2 separate regions of the Homo sapiens genome follow, and region 2 is linked to region 1. The links are contacts of gene promoters, found by promoter capture Hi-C in blood cells and fetal thymus (Javierre and others, 2016). All regions are on one chromosome and are shown on one strand. Each heading gives the region's core, a stretch centred on a gene start or on the middle of the fragment in contact. The rest is flanking DNA. Distances are from core to core; before and after follow the strand shown. Region 1 holds the start of SRSF3 (serine and arginine rich splicing factor 3). Region 2 has its middle 14 kb from the start of CPNE5.

Region 1 (3,640 bases), core at 645-3,144:
CAAAACCTAACATCTGTAACGCTGCAAGCCTGGGGTTATTTTATACAGAGGAAATAGAGAGGTTAAACGTTCTTCTCAGGATGCTTCAGCCAGTAACTAGCAGTGGGGGCTGGGGCCAAATCCAGGACTGCCTGACTCCAGAGCCTTTGATTTGATAGAAGGAAAGAAAATGAAAAAGAGGAGAAAAGCTTACATAGAGGAGGGGAACAAATCAAGGCAAATATAAGTGAGCCAGAAAAAAAAATCTAGACGAGAGAGAAATAAGAAAAGGTTTGCTAGGATCCCCTTCTCCCCTTTTACAGGTGAGGAAACTAGGCTGAGATGTAATAAATCTGTATTTTTTTCCTCCACTACAGATAAACCTTTTAGAACCACAATAAGAGGTAAGGCTTCAAAAGAAAAATACCTGGGAAAGTTAAAACATATTAATTGGCTGGCCGGGTGCTGTGGCTCACGCCTGTAATACCAGCACTTTGGGAGGCCGAGGCGGGAGAATCGCCTGAGGTGGCGAGTTCGAGACCAGCCTGACCAGCATGGTGAAACCCCGTCTCTATTAAAAATACAAAAATTAGCCGGGTGTGGTGGCAGGTGCCTGTAATCCCAGCTACTCGGGAAGCTGAGGTAGGCGAATCGCTTGAACCCGGGAGGCGGAGTTTGCAGTGAGCCGAGGTCGCGCCATTGCACTCCAGCCTGGGCAACAGAACGAGACTCCATCTCAAGAAAAAAAAAAAAAGAAAAAAGAAAAAAAAAAACATAATAATTGGCATATCTTTCAGCTAAGAGGGAATAAATAAAAAGACAGGTTCTTTTTCTCTCTTTTTTTTTTTGTGCAGTGGTAGGATCTCAGCTCACGGCAACCTCCGCCTCCTGGGTTCAAGCGATTCTCCTGCTCTCAGCCTCCCAAGTAGCTGGGATTACAGGCGCCTGCCACCATGCCCGGCCATTTGTATTTTTAATAGAGACGGGATTTCACCATGTTGGCCAGGCTGGTCTTGAACTCCTGACCTCAAGTGATCCGCCTGCCTCGGCCTCCCAAAGTGCTGGGATTACAGGCATGAGCCACCGCGCCCGGCCCTTGGTGATTTTTCTAACCCAATCACAGTCTCTCTCCCCTTAATTACTCTTGCGGCTCTGTCTTCGTAAGGGAAGTGGCCCGGACAAAATACATGCCAGGCAGTGCAACGGCTGCTAGGAGAAAGGCTCGAGATACCCCTCCTGGCATTTGCTTGGGGGCCAGAATTTACATTCAATCTTCTTCAGAAACTTCCCTTTCCGGGTGTTTGCTAAAGGTGATAGTTTCCAGGTCACCTGACCGGTCTCCTTTGCTGTCGGCGCCAAGTCCTGCAAGTTTGCTTGAGAGACGAGAAACCAGCAAGAGTTGGGCAAACTTTCCAAACCAGGCTTTTCCTTCAGTGTGGAATCTAGGCGGCCACAGTCTGGTGCCAGCTGGGTCACAAACAGCTCCGTGACCTGTTTGTAAACGCGATGCTCTTAGTTCCAGACTAACCGCTCACAAGGGTGAAGCACTTAATTAATTCATCTCTTAATCTTGTTAGGGGCCAACGGCTCCTATTAGTGTTTGAGCGTGACGGCGACGGTGCTGTTTATGAAGCCCTAGCCTATTTGGAGGTGAGGAAGAGGAGTCTGTGGGTAACCTGGAGGTCGACAGACCGGGAGGAACGCTCGAGGGAGCACCAGGCCTGTTACAACGAGCGCGCGCCGACGCACGTCTCCACCCACCCGGCGCAACCGCCAGAGCGCGCTCCCAGCAACCGCGGCTCTCGCTGCGTTTGTAGCCATACGTCACGGCCTCTTCTGCTTCTCATTGGGGGAGCCCGTCCAATCATGTGATTCCAGTATGGCGTATAAATAAAGGCGAGGAGAAGGCGGTGGTCCGCCATTTCGTGGACGCCGGGTGAGTGAGAGAGTTGGTTGGTGTTGGGCCGGAGGAAAGCGGGAAGACTCATCGGAGCGTGTGGATTTGAGCCGCCGCATTTTTTAACCCTAGATCTCGGTAAGAGACCAGCGAAAGAGGGAATGAGGTGGAAATGGAATTTAACAGTACCAAGGAGCCAGGCCCAATGGCGGCGCCAGATTGAGACAAAGAGGCGCCGCCGCCATTTTGTGACGTTCAGCACGGGGCGGTGGCGGGGGCTCCCGGCCCATCGGAGGGTTTCCTAGTCTTGGAGTGGAAGTCTTTATATTCCTCATTGGGGCATGAGCCAGGATGGGGGTTACCTGGGAGTTGGGAACCACAAAGGGGAGCCGATAGCCGAGTTGTATTCCAGGTCACGGCCTTTTTATTTTTATGGCGCCTTTTTTTTTTTTGGCCCCTCATTTAATTGGGAAGCTTCTCAGAATGTTTTTGTAAAGTCACTAACCAAGACCGGACCTTTCAGTTCATATTAAATGGCCCCCGTAGTCACCTTACTTTCATGTAGTTTCAGATTTTGCAGCCTGAATCTAATCACCTTTTTCTAAGACCGAAAGATCTTCCTTGAACTTAAGATTCGTTCTTTCATCGCTTCCCATTAAAATGGAGGCTTAAGACAGGTGCCAGCAGTGTTTTTAAAAATTTTCACCAGTGGTTTGGTCTTAGAACTTACTCCTGGGCACAGGGTGTGGTCACGGCAAATAGGATGTGTCTGGACTGGATATTTTAATTAGACAAGCCCAGAGTAAGAAGAACGTGGTGTTTATGGAAAGCACTTCAGCTGAATTATTGAGTAGATGGTTTTTATGTAATTGAAACTGGTCTACAAGTTTATCAGATTCATCGTCGAAGTGACTCAGTAATAAAGCTTTATCAAATACAAGTCCGCCAAGGAAGAACAAAAAAATAAGTCCCCAAAGTGCAGTAAATTTTTTAGTAGCAAATATCTCTTTGTAATTTTTTATTAAAGTGAAATTATCTTTAAGTGGTATTTAGTATATTCAGTGTTGTGTAATCATCACTTACACGTAGTTCCAAAACATTTCCGTCACCTCCCCCCGCAGGAGACTACTACCCATTGAGCACTTACTCCCAGATTCCCTGTCCCCCTTCCTCTAGTCCCTAGCAACCACTAATCTTCCTGTCTCTCTGAACTTAGCTATTTTAGATATTTAGTATTTATGGAATCGTGTACTTTTATGTCTGGCTTCTTTAACTTAGCGTAATGTTTTCAAGATTTTCCAACGTTGGAGGATTTGTCAGTACATCATTCTGAATAATACTCATTTTATGTCTATACCACATTTTGCTTATCCGTTTCTGTTGATGGACATTTGGGTTAACATCTTTGGGCTACTGTGAATAAGTGCTACTATGAGTTTACATTTTTTAAAAAACTGTAAAGTTGGTCTCGTTGCTTGATAAATTTTTACCGCGTAAGACTCTGGTCTATCTAATGACATTTGATACTAGCCTTGTTCCTATAGTTCCAAATGACCAAAATAGGCATTTATTTATTTATTTATTTGTGGTTTTTTTTTGGCGATGGAATCTCGCTCTGTCGCCGAGGCTGGAGTGCAGTGGCGCGATCTCGGCTCACTGCCACCTCCGCCTCGCGGGTTCAAGCGATTGTTCTGCCTCAGCCTCCCGAGTAGCTGGGACTACAGGTGTGCGCCACCATGCCCGGCTAATTTTTGTATTTTTAGT
Region 2 (3,230 bases), core at 513-3,012, 260 kb after region 1:
AGGATCTTGAGTTATCCATTTGGAAAAACAATCGGGAACCCAATTCCCAAATCAGGCCAAGCCAACCTTAGAGTGAGACCCTAACATGTTTTCTTCCCACTTTGCTTCTCTCTCATCTGTAAGAGTGTTGCTGGAAGATCCCCTATCTTGGTATTTACCTAAAAAGTAGTAACTCACTCTTTAGGCAACAGGACTCTGAGACCACAAAGTGCTTCTTTGTAAGCGGTAAACTCCACCGCTTTAACGTGCTTTTCAATGCTTCCTCCTCCACATGTTGCAAGAATATGGTGCCAAAAGGGGCCCCAGTGATGGCTCTGACTGGCTTGAGGATCTGGGGGCAGCAATCGTGTTTGTGTGGGGAAAGCTATTTTGACATATTCTGGAGACACAATCCAAAAATACATCAGGCTGAGGACTTCCAGAGAGCTCAGTGGAAAGGCTTGGCTGCCATACCAGCTGAAGCCTGGGTTTGGAGAGTTGGGGTACAGCAATTTCTACAAGAGGATCTCAATCTTTTTCTGATGGAGAACATTTTATTTGATACATTCAGCAATAACCTCAAATTACTACACAAGGTGCTGGGAAGACTTACAGAGGGGAGTAAGACAAGGTCCTTGTTCTCAGAGGTTAGCCCAGTGGGAGGGAGAAGCTGTGAGGTGAGAGGCTGAGACAGGTCAGGCTGTGTATATGTCGAGATGAAGAGGTAGGACAGGTGTGTGGTGGCTTCAAGGGCCACTGGTAGTAACAACAACTAGCATTTTGGGGGTGTTTTCTAAATGCCAGTTCCTGTTCTAAATACCTGTTCTAGCTCATTTAATCTTCACAATAGCCCTTGAAGTTTGGCCCATTATTCTCATTTTATAGTGGAAGAAACTAAAGCACAGAGAAATTAAGAAACTTAAGTTCATGCTGCTGCTAAGTGGTGGAGCTGGGATCTGAACCCCGACAGTCAGGTTCCAGAGCTCTTTCCCCCAATGTCATCTTTGTTGATGCTCTTTTCCCTGCATTTTCTGTGATGTCTACTGATCACCCAATCTCACCCACCCTGGTGTCCACACAAGGTATCTCAGTGCCACATACCAGGGTCTGAAGTCCATGTTGTACTGCTGTGGGAACAGAACACTTTCATAAAGCTCAATCCCAGTAGCCAAAGCCAGCAGCTTATGTTAAAGCTCATCGTGTGCTTTGAATCTCTTCACTCTTCCAAGACCACCAGGATGAGGTGGAGAGCTCTGCTCCAGGAGGCATAAGATTGGTTCATGGTCCTGACTGCCCTTGCTCTTAGGGAAACCCCCCCTCCCCAGTTTCATGTTGGACAAATGTGACCTCTAGGACCTCACTACTCAAAGGGTGGTGTCTGGACCGGCAGTCACCATCTCCTGGGAGCTGGCGAGAACTGCAGACTCTCTGGCTGAGTGCTGAGTCAGAAGCTGCTTCCTAACAGGCTCCCTCAGTGATTCCTGCATGTAGTCATGTGAGAAGCCCTGGGCTAGGGCCCTTGGGCCATATTCTTTATAGTCTGTGTGCCAAGCTTCTCTTATCCATCATCCCAGGGGCACCTGTTTGAAAGCCTTTTCCACTGGTGTATCTACTTCCAACTTTAAGCCTTCTCCAAATGTCTAGAATCTCTTTCCCTTCCCCCACGAGAAGCAGCAGAGAGCTGTCTCTCTCCTGTGCCTTGATGAGCCCCCCATGGTCCTCCACACCTATCTTCAATAATCCCCATCCAAGTTTTAAACTTATCCTTGTTTTCTCCTGATAAGCCAGGAGAAAGCTCACCACCCTCACCGTGATGAGATGTAACAAAAATGAACTATCTCTAGTACACCCCACTTTTATGAGACCTGTCTCAATGGTACTAATCCTGACAGGATGTAGACACTCATATGACCAAAGAATTAAGCAGGATTCCTTTTAGATGAGCTTCCCTTATAAGGAAACGGGAACTTCTACAACTCTGGCTAACTGGCAGAACCACAAATTGTGAAACAATTCAAGCTTCACTCTCTGAGGTCATATCCTCTATGAAAACTGGTATGTGCCCACGTGACTGCCTTAGCATGGATTTGGTGTCCCTTTCCAAAAACAAGGAACTGTGCCTGTGTGGCTCTCCTCCCAAGGCATGCAGAACCTTCTTTGCTTCAGAGTAGCCATGATACGTTTCCACCACGCCTGTGCCTTGGATGAAAGTGGAGATTTTCAGGATTACGATTCTGGGAGGTTAGTGAACAGGTGCTATTCCTTGCTCTCAGAGGCAGATCCAATTATGTCCACCCAGTTCAGGCTGAAAGAAATACATTTCTATTTTTTCCAGAGTGTAGAACACTACTTTGCATACAAAAACCATCTCTGGGAAGTTACAAAGTCATTTATATGGTTTGTTGTTGGGTTTTGCTTTTTTGCTATTGAGAGAAAAGAGAAAGGTAGAGAAAGAGGTTGAAGGTAGGGAAGGCTTGGGGAACAGAACCTTGTTTGGCCATTCCATAAAGTAAATCACCATTTCCAAAATTGATAGAGTAGTAAGAAACATTAAAGTTATAATCCCCTCTTCAAGGAGCTACCAGCTTAAGGAACCAAACACCACAACATATACTGCCTCTGGTCCCATAATAATGTGCAGGTGGGCTCTCTGCAAATTCCAGGGATGGTGCAGGTCTCTTAGCACATACACCTGGTTCACTTACAGGTAATCCCCCCAACATGGTTTGGCTCTGTGTCCCCACCCAAATCTCATCTCGAATTGTAATCCTCTGTGTCGAGGGAGGGATCTGGTGGGAGGTGACTGATCATGGGGCATTTTCCCCCTGCATGCTGTTCTCACGATAGTGAGGGAGATCTCATGAGATCTGATGGTTTAAATATGGTGGTTTCCCCCGTGCTCGCTCTCTCTCCTGCCACCTTGTAAAGAAGGTGCTTGCTTCTCCTTTGCCTTCCACCATTATTGTAAGTTTCCTGAGGTCTCCCTAGCCATGTGGAACTGTGAGTCAATTAAACCTCTCTTGTTTATAAATTACCTAGTCTCAGGTAGTGTCTTTATAGCAATGTGAAAACAGATGAATACACCTCTTATTCAGAAATGTCAATTTCTGTCACTTAATTCTTTCTCTGGTTCTGCCCTTTTAAAGTTAGAATTGCTCTTAAAGAGGGAGAAGTCTACTGGAGATCCACAAGCCTAAAATGATGTGAAATCTTGAACATTCAATCTCTGTACTACTACTTAAGATGACTGG

What was found. Contacts are between HindIII fragments. The CHiCAGO score rates a contact against its expected background, and 5 or more counts as called.
Region 2: a fragment that was not itself captured here is called in contact with the fragment with the promoter of SRSF3 in region 1 in 1 of 17 cell types (M0 macrophages); the score reaches 5.1 in M0 macrophages.

What each region holds. Positions count from the first base shown.
Region 1 is chr6:36,592,468-36,596,107 of GRCh38, forward strand. It overlaps SRSF3 (serine and arginine rich splicing factor 3), which reads left to right and starts at 1,895. Exons shown (of 6, transcript NM_003017.5): 1 at 1,895-2,014. RefSeq lists enhancers at 1,403-1,562, 1,671-2,352, 1,953-2,182. The HindIII fragment of the contact is 2,162 bases long and covers 187-2,348 here.
Region 2 is chr6:36,851,543-36,854,772 of GRCh38, forward strand. No RefSeq gene overlaps it. Among named protein-coding and RNA genes, the nearest start is that of CPNE5, 14 kb to the left of the region's middle. The HindIII fragment of the contact is 467 bases long and covers 1,530-1,996 here.